Regions from separate parts of the Homo sapiens genome. Here all the other regions are linked to region 3. The links are contacts of gene promoters, found by promoter capture Hi-C in blood cells and fetal thymus (Javierre and others, 2016). All regions are on one chromosome and are shown on one strand. The core of a region is centred on a gene start or on the middle of the fragment in contact, and the rest is flanking DNA. Distances in the headings are between cores, read along the strand shown. Region 1 holds the start of PHF2 (PHD finger protein 2). Region 2 overlaps FAM120A (family with sequence similarity 120 member A). Region 3 holds the start of IPPK (inositol-pentakisphosphate 2-kinase).

Region 1 (3,812 bases), core at 990-3,489, 910 kb before region 3:
AGCCTCCCCAGACATCCCCCTTTTGGGGATTTTTTGCATGGGCCAATACAGCAAATGACACCAACCAGCTCTCAGGCCAGCTCTCAGCCCCTGTCGCCTGCCTGCCCCTCATTCCTGGAGTTTTTCCCTTGGCCTCGAAGTCTAGTTCAGAACTAGCCTTCCCTTCCCAGAGGGTCCCCTAAGCAGCGAGACAAAGGTCTTCTCGCGTTCTCTCACTCTCCCTACTCTGGGCCCCGAGTGTGGGCAGCAGCCAGGAGCTGACACAGGTGCCCAGAAGGTTCTGTAGCAGAGTGACTGCGCTCGCCAGGTCAGGGCTCCGGTGGAGATGGGGGAGAAGGCAGAGGCCCCACCACTTTCAGGGCTTTTCAGGGCCAGCAGCTCAGCATCCCTGGATATGAGGAGCCTTAGAGGCTCTCACTCACTTTGGCCCGGCCATGAACTTCTCAACGGCTGCCAGTTGAGGGTGTGCATGTCAGCCCTGTTCTGGGCAGAGCCCGGTGTTCACACTCAGTCTCCCTTGCTCTAAGGGGCTTCCACAGCCCTGGGCATACCCAGGAAGGCAGCCCAGATTTCCGTGGGCATCCCCACCCCACAGAGTCCCAGGCCCTTCTAACAGCAGGGAGGTAGGACTCAGGACTGGGGCTGACAGACATAGCAGGCCCTGTCACATCCCAGCCACCCAGGTCCCCACATGTAAACTGGCAGGACTGGACTTGGGGCCACAGCCCACTCTTAAGCACCACTGACCAGTCTTGAAGACCCAGTCTTAGAACCTGCAGGAGGATCTCCTCTCTGGAAGGAGAATCCCGGACCACCCACCACCACACACCCCTCTCTTTCCCCCGGCTGCTTGCTGCCGGTGGTTTGGGACTGGAGCCCCAGAGGGCATACAGCCCTGGCCAGCCCCGGGTCCAAACACATCCCACAGGCAAAGTCAGATGCAAGAGAACCTGTTGGAGCAGTTTGGGCAACACTGTCACCTCCTCTTCCTCCTCCTCCATTTACTTCTTGGTGGGAAGGGACCTGCCCTAGGCATGGGGCCAGGTCATGGCCATCGGCAAGGGCCAAGAGGGCGGGGGTTTTCAGTGTCTCCAAGCGTTACCTCCTTCCCCCCTCCCCATCTTCCTTAGGGAGCATAAGATCATGTCAAAACCGGCGTTCCTGCCGGGAACGGAGAGGAGAGAAACGGGGAAAACTGAAGGCCAGGGAGGAGGTGGCAAAGCCACAACAAACCCCCCTTACCCAACTCACAGACACTATTCTGTCACCGCACTCCTGCCCGCGGACCTGCAGGCCTGCCGGGTCTAGCTGCTCCGCGGGGGTCCGGGAGGGGTCCTGCCCTCGGGGACAAGGTCCAAGGGAGCTCGCCGGCCACGGCGGAGGGTGGGCGCGCCGGCTGCCACCTCGCCGGAGCCCCCACGGACTCCCCAGCCCTGCCGGAGTCGGAGCCCGCCACTCGCGCCTCTCCCGGGACCCGCGCCGGGCTGCGCGCCCGCTTCTCCCGGCCCGGCCAACCCCGAGCCCGCGCGGGGAAAGTTCCTGCAACTTCGCAGGGGGGAGGCGGCGGGGGCTCCGGGCCTCGGCCTCCCTCCGGATGCCCGGCCTCTGCGGCCGCCGCGACCCAGCTGACAGGCGGCCCGGCCCGGGCCTGGAGCCCCAACTTCCCCGCGCCCCGAGCCCCGAGCCCACCTCCCGGCCCGCGGGCCTCGCTTTGTGCGCGGCGGCCAGGGGCGCCCAGCGCGGGCCCCGTGCTTGGCGCCCCCGCCCTGGGCACAAAAGGGCGCGCGGCCCGGCACGGCCCAGCCCCGACCGGGGCGCCCGGAATGCGGCGGCGGCGGCGGCGGCCCGTCCCCGAGCCGGGCCTGCGGGCGCGCAGCCGGGGGCGCGGGGCTCGGTCGGGCAAGGTGGCCGGGCCGGGCCGGGCCGAGCCGAGCAGCCGCCGCGCGCTCACCTGCCGTGGAACCAGTCCTTGCAGGCGTCGCACTCGATCATGAAGCGGGTAACGTCGTAGGGGAGCCGGCAGACGCAGTACACGGGCACCGTCGCCATGTTGCCGCGCCGCGCCGCCGCTCGGCCCCGCCGCTGCGCTGCCCGGGTCGGTCCGGGCCGGGCCGGGGGCCGGGCCGCGCGGGGGCGGCGGGGGCGGCGGGGCGCAGGCGGCGCCGCGGCCGGGAGGGGACGGGGACGGGGGCGCACGACAGCCCCCGCGCGCGCTCCCGGCCAGGCGCGTCCACACAATGCCGGGCGCGCTGGCTGGAGGGGCCGCGCCGGGAGCCGCCCGCCGGCCCGCGGGGCTCAGGGCGCTAGTGTGCGCGGGGGACGGGCCGCGCGCGGGACACAAAAGGGAATGGACGCGCGGGGGCGGCGGGCGGGGAGCCGCGGCCCCACCGAAGGGACCCCCGGCCGCCGAGCGGCCTCTACGTCAGCGCCCCGGGTGGCGCCGCCTCCGCCCGCCGGCCTGGGCCGCCGCTCCCGCCGCCGGGAAGGCGGGCTGGGGAACCCTGCGGGGGAGAAGGTGGGTTGGGGGACCCTGCCGGGGGAGAAGACGGCCGGGGGGACCCTGCCGGGGGAGAAGGCGGGTGGGGGGATCTCGAAGGTGGAAGATAGGCCGAGAAGGGCCCCCAAGGCTGAAGGTAGACCCAGGGGTCCGCGGGCGCGAAGGTGAGCTGGGGGAGCCTTGAGACTGAAAGTGGGGTGGGACCCCGGGGAGAAGGTGGGCGGGACCCCGAGGATAAGATAAGTTGGGGGAACCCGGGCAAGGCAGAAGGAGAGACGCGGGGTGCGGGAGTGGAGCCCGCAGGAGAGCCTTCCTAGTCTAGAAGGCCGACAAGCAAATACTTGGCCCTAACTTTCTTCTGACCCCCACCACGGTGGGGGTGTTCCTCCTCCTCGGCCGCGCTGCCTCCCTCCGTTCCCCACTGAGTTTCTGGTTGGGACACCACTTCCTCTTTCCCCTCATTTTCGGCTGGGGACTGCCGCCTCCCTCGCAGGATCCCGCGGACTTCCCTGATGCTCAGCCCCAGAGGAAGAGGACAGAAGCCCGGGCCGGGAGTGCGCTGGCACGGGCTGGTCAGCTCTGTTCCCTGGCATTTGAGCCCCCCAGGCCCGTGACCTAAGGGGCCGGGCTGGTCAGCTCTGTCAAGAGAGAGCTCCCTGGCATTTGAGCCCCCCAGGCCCGTGACCTAAGGGGCGAGGAGTATGGGAACCCTGGCCCCCGTGTCCAGGGAACTGAGCCCCCACGGTGGGGAGGAGAAGCGGAGGTGCGCTCTGAGGGGTCACTTGCACGCGTTCTAGAGGAGGACTTCCCTGCCTCGCCAGCGCTGCATCCTTGGGGCATCCGCGCTGGGCAGGGGCCACATCCCTGCCCGCCCTTCCTCCCTCACCCTCTTTCTCTCCCCATCCTCCCTCAGCAAAATCCGCATCGTGCTGGGAAATGTGGGCCACCCCTGCTCGGAATTCCAGAATCTCCGGACAGGAAACCTGGCTCAGTCTCCTAGCAGCATCCATGACAAGGCTCCTTAGCCCCTCAGCCCCTCACCATCACCGCCCACCTGCAGCTGCCAAGGGGCCGTTTGCTCCACCGCAGGCGGCTCAATTAAGGTCCTTCCTCCTACTGAGCCAAAATCTACCCTCAGAGTCAGCCACCCACCCCCAACAAGTGACCCCGTGGATACAGACTCAGGGCAGTGCCCAAAGCACTGGGCACTGGGGAAGGGGGCGGGGGGAGAAGTAGCTGGCCATAGAGGGAGAGGAAAGAGCAGGAGACCCCCAGCTCCCACACCTCTGGACTGGCCAGGATGGCCTGCAATAGG
Region 2 (4,109 bases), core at 778-3,277, 790 kb before region 3:
GTATAACAGGCACGTGAAAAATAAATCCTGGCCTAAAGGCAAGTTTCAAAAAGCCTATTATATAAAAACAGAAATCTTCCCACAGGTAGTCCAGTTGAAAGAAACAAGAAAACCTACAAAGTATGGAATTTGGTTACCAATTAATTTATGAGTGAATAAATGCAGTCAAACTACTAAGAATATTCGTAAGAGGCCCAATAAACAATTCCTTAAGATTTAAGTCAAGGAAAGCCTGGTTAAAAATCTGATCAAGGATATGAGCAGGGGTAAAAAGACAATACAATGCAAGGTTTGGGTGGGAATGGAAAAAAGATTCTGGGTTGCATCAAAATAACTTACAAGGCAGTTATTTAATTAAGAATAAACGTTAAGTACTGGGCTGAAGCTTTGGTCTGACAGACTTGAGCTCCCCTGCTGTTCATCTGGTCTTCTGAAGCTCCTTCCTGTTTTCCCTTCTCCTATACTAAGCTACTCTCTCACTCTTATTTATCTGCTTCTTCTCTTCCCTGGCCTTCCAATGCCTGGCTTGGACTGGGCATAATACAATGAAATGTGTACTTCTAGTTCTTAATGTTAATTTCAGAAGTGGGTTAAAACTATTAAACGCAATGTTCAGATTATTTGATTTTGAACCCCCTCGAAGAACAAAATGACGTAAAAAATTAAGCCCTGAAAACACTTACTTACAGGTAGCCCTTCAAAGGGGGTAAAGTCATCCACCAGAGGTAAATCAGACTTCGAACTATGAGCTGCCTCCTTGCTGAAAGTCCCAGGCTAGTAGCCACTGAAAGTATCTGCCATTTTAAAAGCACCAGGCCTTGATTAATTTTTGTCATGGCTACCATTTCCACTCTATCAAAATGCAGGCTTCAAGATCAAGGAAGTGAAACTCTAAAACTCCTTCTGTAAACAACCCCGAGGAGCATTAGGCTTCAGCTCTTGTGAAGTGATGAGGGGGCTAGTGTCCAATACAACACTCTAACCTGGGGCAGCCAGGATGGGAATCACAACACTTCTCAGCTTCTTCCTCCCTGTCTACCCCCTCCCCAAGAAATATGGTAGGTGTCATTAGTGTTGACAAGTTTAAGAAGTGGCAAAAGGGCCCGTTTCTGGTCTCAAGAAAGTACTCTGTACTTCGATTTACAATGATAACTTTATGCCACTATAAATTTACCAAATATACCTAGGTAAATCTTTTTATCTCAGTAGTTTTACATTTCATCATTAAAAAGGCAGATATATCAAAACTCAGGACTTTTACAAAGAATAATGACTTAAAAACTCCCAAACTTACTTGGCAAGTATAATTGTTTATTAATTCTGAAACACAGCTACAGGAAGACCCCATAAGAAGAAAAACTTGACACTGTTACTTACTCCTAGTTTCCAGTGAAAAAACACTCTACAATGAGGTTTGTGTCTCTGGCACCAGGTAGGTGAACTCCACTGCCTACTTTAATACTTTCTGTACTTCCATTTCCTCATCTGTAAGAATAATAGTATTCCTCTATCTCATAGGGTAGCTGCGATGATTAAATATACTACATGTAAACAGCTCAGAAGCATTCACAAATAATAAGCGCTTGACAAATGTCAGTTACTATGTACTTTTAAGGAAGCTATGTAAAAAGGTTTCTTTATACTTTTCACACAGGACCTGAAACACTATGGGTTCTCATACATACATTTTCTGACACTAGGAAAACATACCGTTAATGTGGTTTTTCTTCAGAATAATTTTACACCAGTTCAGGGAACAATGTGACACATCCTCCAGCCAGCTAGCTGATTTAGAAGATATAAAACAACCTGACATAAGAGCGTATAGGTCCACCTAAATTATTTTGTTTTAAAAAACAACTACCAAAAAGGCAGTCTTCAGCCTCTTCCCAATGGGCAGTCAATAGGTATGAAATGGGAAAAACTAACACTGAAGCTTCTGTTCCCTACTCTAGTCCAACTGAAGAATAAGAACATTAAAAAAAGTCAACTCCAATTTGGTGGCAGATTTTTGTTGCTGTTTAAAGGGCAATTTAAATGTTATGACACATAGCAGCAATGCCTCTAAAAAGAAATCTCTCTCTTCAGGTAAGCTGAAATCATAGCTGAATAAGCTTATCTTATATATCTCATTTAGAATAAATGAGAATTGGGTACAGTGATCTTAAAAACAAGGAAAAACATTTCTTAAAATAAGGGAGTGGGACATGAAAAGATGCTCAACTTCACTCATTATTACAGAAATATAAATCAAAACCACAATGAGACACTGAATACCTCACACCCATTAGGATGGCTACTATTTTTTTAAAAAAAAGAAAATAACAAATGTCAACAAGAATATATGGAGAAAAACAGATTCCTTGTGCATTGCTGGTGGGAATGTAAAACAGCGTGGCCTCTTGGGAAATCGTATGGTGATTCCTCAAAAAACTGAACGCAGAACTACCCTAAGATACAGCAATTACACTTCCAGGTTGAAAAAATGGGTCCGAAGAGATGTCGGTACATTCATGTTCACAGCAGCACCATTTACAATGACAAAAAGGATGAAACCCAAGTGTCCACCCACTGATGAATGGATAAACAAAATGTGGTCTATCCAATACAACAGAATGTTATTGAGCCTTAAGGAGGAAATTCTGACACGTTACAACATGTATGAACCTTGAAGACATTGTGTTAAATGCAATAAACCAGACACAAAATTACATATACTATACGATCTCATTATATGAGGCTCATAGGGTAGACAACTTCAGAGACAGAGAGGAGAATGGTGGTTACCAGGAGCTGGGGCATGGAAGAAATGGGGAATTACAGTTTAGTGGGTACACAGTTCCAGTTTGGGATGAGGAAAAAATTCTGGGAATGGATGGTGGTGATGGTTATACAACAATGTGAATATACTTAATGCCACCGGGGACAGGCGTGGTGGCTCACACCTATAATCTCAGTACTTTGGGAGGCCAAGGGTGGTGGGTCACTTGAGGTCAGGAGTTCAAGACCAGCCTGGCCAAGATGGTGAAACCCTGTCTCTACTAAAAATACAAAAATTAGCTGGGTGTGGTGGCAGGCGCACGCCTGTAATCCCAGCTACTCAGGAGGCTGAGGCAGAACTGCTTGCACCCGGGAGGCAGAGGTTGCAGTGGGCTGAGATCACGCTACTGCGCTACAGCCTTGGTGACAGAGCGAGACTCCATCTCAAAAAAATATATATACTTAATGCCACTGAACTGTACATTTAAAAATGGTTAAATTGGTAAATTTTATGTTAGGTGTATTTTACCACAATTTTAAGAAACAATAATAATAAAAAGAAGGGTATCTCCCTGTCTTCTCAGAAGGCCTAGGTGCTTTGGCTCCAAAATTAACTTCCTACTTGTAAAAAGGCAGAGTTTTCCTTTTCCTTTGATTAACGACAATTAGGATGTATGTAATAGTTTGTATCTGCCAGGCTGTATCAAAGGGTGACACTTCTTTTTGGCTTTCGCAATCTCTTTAGCACACACTGCTTGTGATGTGATCACAGTCTGGTTCAATGGTTATTCAATAATACAGGTTAGGTGTCCTTTACTGAAACACTTAAGACAAGAAGTGTTTTGGATTTCAGGCTTTTTCAAGTTTTGGAATATTTGTTATTATGCTTACCAGTTGAACATTCTAAATTCAAAAATCAAAAATCCAAAATGCTCCAGTGAGCATTTCCTTTGTGCATCATGCTGGTGCTCAAAAAGTTTTGAATTTTGGAGCATTTCAGATTTGGGATGTTCGAATTATAAAACTGCTTGATTTTTCCCTCTAAAAATATTAATAATAATAAAGGAGTGATGTCATAAAAGAAATGCAAATTAAACTTTACAAACTTTAAAAATAAAAAAATACAATGATAAAAGGAAGAAACACACACATTATTTGTATTCAGAATCTATTTAGCCTACTCTAGTAATCTAATGACTCAGCTAAATCCTAGTAATATCATTCTTATTAAAATACCATTCCAAAATCTAAAACATAAAATTTCAATTTTCATAATTTAGGAAAAAGAACCACAGGTTGATACTATTTATTTCAAGATAGTAACACTTGCAAACTCTTCATAGGTCCAG
Region 3 (4,177 bases), core at 1,197-3,696:
CTGGGCCTCCCAAAGTGTTGTAATTACAGGCGTGAGCCACCATCCCCAGCATGAATCTGCTTTTTATCATCACCATATAATGGCAATTTTAAAGTATCAGGGATATAATACACCTCCATGGGGGAAAAAATCAAGATACAGAACATTTCTAGCACCTTAGAGGTTTCAAGGAAATATTTTAATGCTTAATATATTATTTAATCTCACCCCAACTCTCCTTTTTGCAGGGTGCTGAGGAACTCAACTGCAGTCATGTTTAAGCTTCCCTGGCCTTGTGGGGGCGTGGGAAGGACTGAATTTTGTGAGCCCTAAGGTCCTCTCTCTCTGTTGGGAGCTACTTACCTCCAGGAGTGGCTGTTTCTGCCCCCATTTCTCAACCATCCCTGTGGAGGGTCCTGAGCCACCTCCCACCCAGCTTCCCCACCACCCCCCCCCCACCGCCTCCTTTTTTCTCTTTCAGACGGAGTCTTGCTCTGTTGCCCAGGCTGGAATGCAGTGGCACGATCTGGGCTCACTGCAACCTCTACCTCCCGGGTTCAAGTAATTCTCCTGCCTCAGCCTCCCGAGTAGCTGGGATTGCAGGCGTGCACCACACACCCAGCTAATTTTTGTATTTTTAGTAGAGATGGGGTTTCACCATATTGGCCAGGCTGGTCTCAAACTCCTGACCTCATGATCCACCGCCTTGGCCTCCCAAAGTGCTGGGATTACAGGCGTGAGCCACCACACCCAGCCTCCCCCACTTTTTTTTTTTGAGACAGAATCTTGCTTTGTCACCCAGGCTAGAGTGCAGTGGCTTGATCACGGCTCACTGCAGCCTCAACCTCCCGGGCACAAGCGATCCTCCCGCCTCAGCCCCTCAGCCCTACAAGTAGCTGGGGCTACAGGCACAGATACCACACCCTGCTAATTTTTTGTAGAGACAGGGTTTCACCATGTTGCCAGGCTGGTTTGGAATTCCTAAGCTCAAGCGATCCGCCCACCTCGGCCTCCCAGAATGCTGGGATTACAGGCATGAGTCACCATGCCCTGCCCCAGCCTCCCTTTTGAGGCCTAAAATGGAGGAAAGAGATGCTCAAAGCCTTCAGCTCATTTTCCTGAGTCACTGGCCTGATTTCACTACAATTCCCAAGGCCTGGCAAGGTGCCCAGCCGTTCTCAAAGTTGGGTCTGCAGGTCCTCTCTTTGTGAACTACATAACTGCAGATGTTCTTCACAATGTGTATGTCAACCAATGCAATATATTGCAGCAGACCGAATGCCGAAGCACATGTGAGAACCTATTAGGTCAGATTTTAAAAAGATTTGCAAAAGTGTAAAACAATACCACTCCTTTATTTTGGTGGTGGGCGTGGAATGTAATGTTTACTTTTTTTTTTTTTTTTTTTTTTGAGATGGAGTCTCACTCTGTCGTCCACGCTGGAGTGCAATGGCGCGATCTTGGCTTACCGCAACCTCCGCCTCCTGGGTTCAAATGATTCTCTTGCCTCAGCCTCCGGAGTAGCTGGGATTACAGGCCTGCGCCACCATACCTGGCTCATTTTTGTATTTTTAGTAGAGACAGGGTTTCACCATGTTGGCCAGGCTGGTCTCAAACTCCTGACCTCAGGTGATACGCCCGCCTCAGCCTCCCAAAGTGCTGGGATTACAGGCGTGAGCTACCGCGCCCGGCTGTTTACTTTTAAACGAAACAACAAAAAACTTTAAAGCATTTTAACTTAGAATGTGGTAACATCGATAGCTGTAACCCACATTAGCAAAAGCTTGGGGCCCTCATTTTTATGAGTATAAAGTGGTCCTGAGACTACGAGTTTGGGAAATGCGGTAGCTCTACGAGGCGGTGCCATTCTTGCCGCCGCATCAGTGAATTTAGGAGAAGGAAGGTCGTTAGCCCTCTGCCTCACCGCCAAGCAGGAGCCTTGCGCTCCAACTGCGTCCCTCGAAGTCTTCAGGCAAAAGCGGGACTGGGGAGTCCAGTCCTGTGGCCCAGCCACATTTCCTCGCGTAGAACGTTGGACAATGTTTTCTACCTCACAGGACCATCCAAATGACTGCGTTAGGTATTCCCATGAAATGTACGATGAGTACACCCTATTCTACAGAAGCAAAAGCTGAGGCTCAGAGACGCCAAGAGGTTTGCTGGGGTCTCGCGACTAAGCGGTCCCAACACCCAGACACCCTGGCTACCCGGGGACTGCCGGTCACTACCGGGCGCCGAAAAGCCGCCGGCTCCTTCCGCCAGCTACACATCCGGCGCCGAGGCCGGAAGCTTCTCTTCCGGCTCCCAAGACCGCGTTCCGGAAATGAGTCGCTCTACCAGTACCTAAGATGGCCGCCGGCCCATCCACCGTCGCGATCGGTGTGAGGAAAGTGTCACGAACCCGGAATTGCCCGACTCCGTCATGGCAGGCGCCGGGGGCGTGGCTTCCGGCGGCCACAGCTTGCTAGTCGCCGCGGCGGGGTCGAGCGGGGGCGGCAGCTGACAGGCGCTCCTCCCCCGACCGCAGCGGCTGGTTCCCAGCGAGGCGGGCGGCCCCCAGCTCGCGTCCCCGAGTCCTAGCCCGCGAGGCGCCAGGGCTGCGCCTGGGCATGGAAGAGGGGAAGATGGACGAGAATGAATGGGGGTACCACGGAGAGGGCAATAAGAGCCTGGTGGTGGCCCACGCGCAGGTGAGCGGTGGACGTGCGGCGCAGGTCCGGTACCTCACTCCGACGGCCGGTATCACCCCGCCCCCATTATCCGTTTCCTCAACAGGGTCGGTTCCACGTCCCCCCAGTACCTTCCTCCTCCCCGGCCGGTCTCCGGAATTCCCCCACCCTCCAGCATCCCCCCCTACCGCTTGGGTTCCTCATCACCCCAGTATCCCCTCTCTACTGGGTCAGTCTCCCATTGCCCCAGATCCTTCTCCTGGCCGGTCTGTCGTCCCCTCAGTATTCCCGTTCCCCGTCAGAGTCAGTTCCACATCCCCCTCCCCGCCCCGTCGGTGCCGCGCTCAGCCTCACGCGGTGCCGCCTCCCGCCTGGATGCCCGCCGGACTGCCAGGCCGCAGTGGGGTGGAGGCTTGGTTGGGACGGAGGGCCCGGCCAGCACTGGAGGAAGAAGCAGAGTGCCCACAGTGCTGTTACTCTCAGCACCAAAAGAGTTCAGCCTCGTGAGACTACGGAATTGCTGTGCTGTTAATAGTAAGGGGATGTTGTCCACAGGTCCTCTTCTCAACCTTTTAGAATTTGAAGGCTTTCACCTGAATTCAACGAGGGTGAAAGTTTTAGAAACTGCAGTAAGATCTCGCAAAGGTGAATCCCAAGAGTGAAGCGTGTGGGTTTCTGTGAGGGCCCAGATCTCTCTGACCTTTTGCTGTCTGGTACAACCACGCAGGAATGTGGCCGGCTGGAACGGGGGAGGGGGGTGAGGGAGGCGAGGATAGGTGTCATGTAGGGAGGAGTTAGAGCATGGGTGTTAAAGGCACAGGAATCTCAGTGTCTACATTTGTGAAGTGGAACTAGTAGTAGAATTCACTTTGTGGGATTGTTGCAAAGACCAGTTACGCAGGAACCCATCAAGTTATGCTTAGCAAGTGATAATTGTCATCCCTTGGACAGATAAATAAAGTGAAAATCAGAGAGGTTAAGGGCATTGCCCGAGTCGAACAGCTTGTCAGGGATGATGTAGGCAGTGGAGTCCTGCCTTGCTTCTGTTGTTCCTATGCTGGGTGCATTGGTCAGCTGTAGTGTAAGCTGCAAACACCCAGGTAGCCCCTAGGTTGTGCCTTTGGATTTTGTTGCTCATTAGCACAGGGAACTAAAGAACAGAGACTACAAGCTTTGCTCAAGATCTTTAGGTGAATTAATAATGGACCAGGCTAACCTAAAGCTGTCCTTCTCTTGTGTAGTCCACTATTGGCAAAGTGAGGGATGTTTCTGCGTGAGTCCTTTTGTTGTTGGGTTACTGTGCTGATCCCCTGAATCCTTTCCCAAAACAAATACTAATCTTCCAATTCCTTGGTAAGATTAGATGTATCTCTGCATTTTAGGTAAACCTAAGACTTTTCTTTAGTGAGGGCTGATACATTAAATTTCAAAAGTAGTGGCAGATGAAGCAGCAAGTTTCAGGCTTGGAGCAAAAGGACACCCATGTTGAAAGAGCAGAGGCTTTGACGCAGTTGCCTCTGGCACTTGGA

The links. Contacts are between HindIII fragments. The CHiCAGO score rates a contact against its expected background, and 5 or more counts as called.
Region 1: the fragment with the promoter of PHF2 here is called in contact with the fragment with the promoter of IPPK in region 3 in 2 of 17 cell types (naive CD8 T cells and total CD8 T cells); the score reaches 7.1 in naive CD8 T cells.
Region 2: a fragment that was not itself captured here is called in contact with the fragment with the promoter of IPPK in region 3 in 2 of 17 cell types (total B cells and naive CD8 T cells); the score reaches 5.9 in total B cells.

The regions. Positions count from the first base shown.
Region 1 is chr9:93,575,011-93,578,822 of GRCh38, reverse strand. PHF2 (PHD finger protein 2) reads right to left here and starts at 2,239. Exons shown (of 22, transcript NM_005392.4): 1 at 1,952-2,239. The coding sequence starts at 2,049. RefSeq lists enhancers at 450-599, 2,781-3,060, 2,742-3,336, 3,337-3,812 and silencers at 1,461-1,620, 2,211-2,510, 2,621-2,680. The HindIII fragment of the contact is 11,549 bases long and covers 1-3,812 here.
Region 2 is chr9:93,461,396-93,465,504 of GRCh38, reverse strand. All of the region lies in intron 1 of FAM120A (family with sequence similarity 120 member A), which reads right to left. Among named protein-coding and RNA genes, the nearest start is that of FAM120AOS, 9.9 kb to the right of the region's middle. The HindIII fragment of the contact is 178 bases long and covers 1,939-2,116 here.
Region 3 is chr9:92,668,400-92,672,576 of GRCh38, reverse strand. IPPK (inositol-pentakisphosphate 2-kinase) reads left to right here and starts at 2,446. Exons shown (of 13, transcript NM_022755.6): 1 at 2,446-2,669. The coding sequence starts at 2,589. It overlaps LOC107987095 (a long non-coding RNA gene), which reads right to left and starts at 2,215. Exons shown (of 2, transcript XR_001746837.2): 1 at 1,904-2,215. RefSeq lists enhancers at 449-618, 876-1,170, 1,925-1,974, 1,985-2,434, 3,175-3,344 and a silencer at 2,475-2,654. The HindIII fragment of the contact is 1,551 bases long and covers 2,271-3,821 here.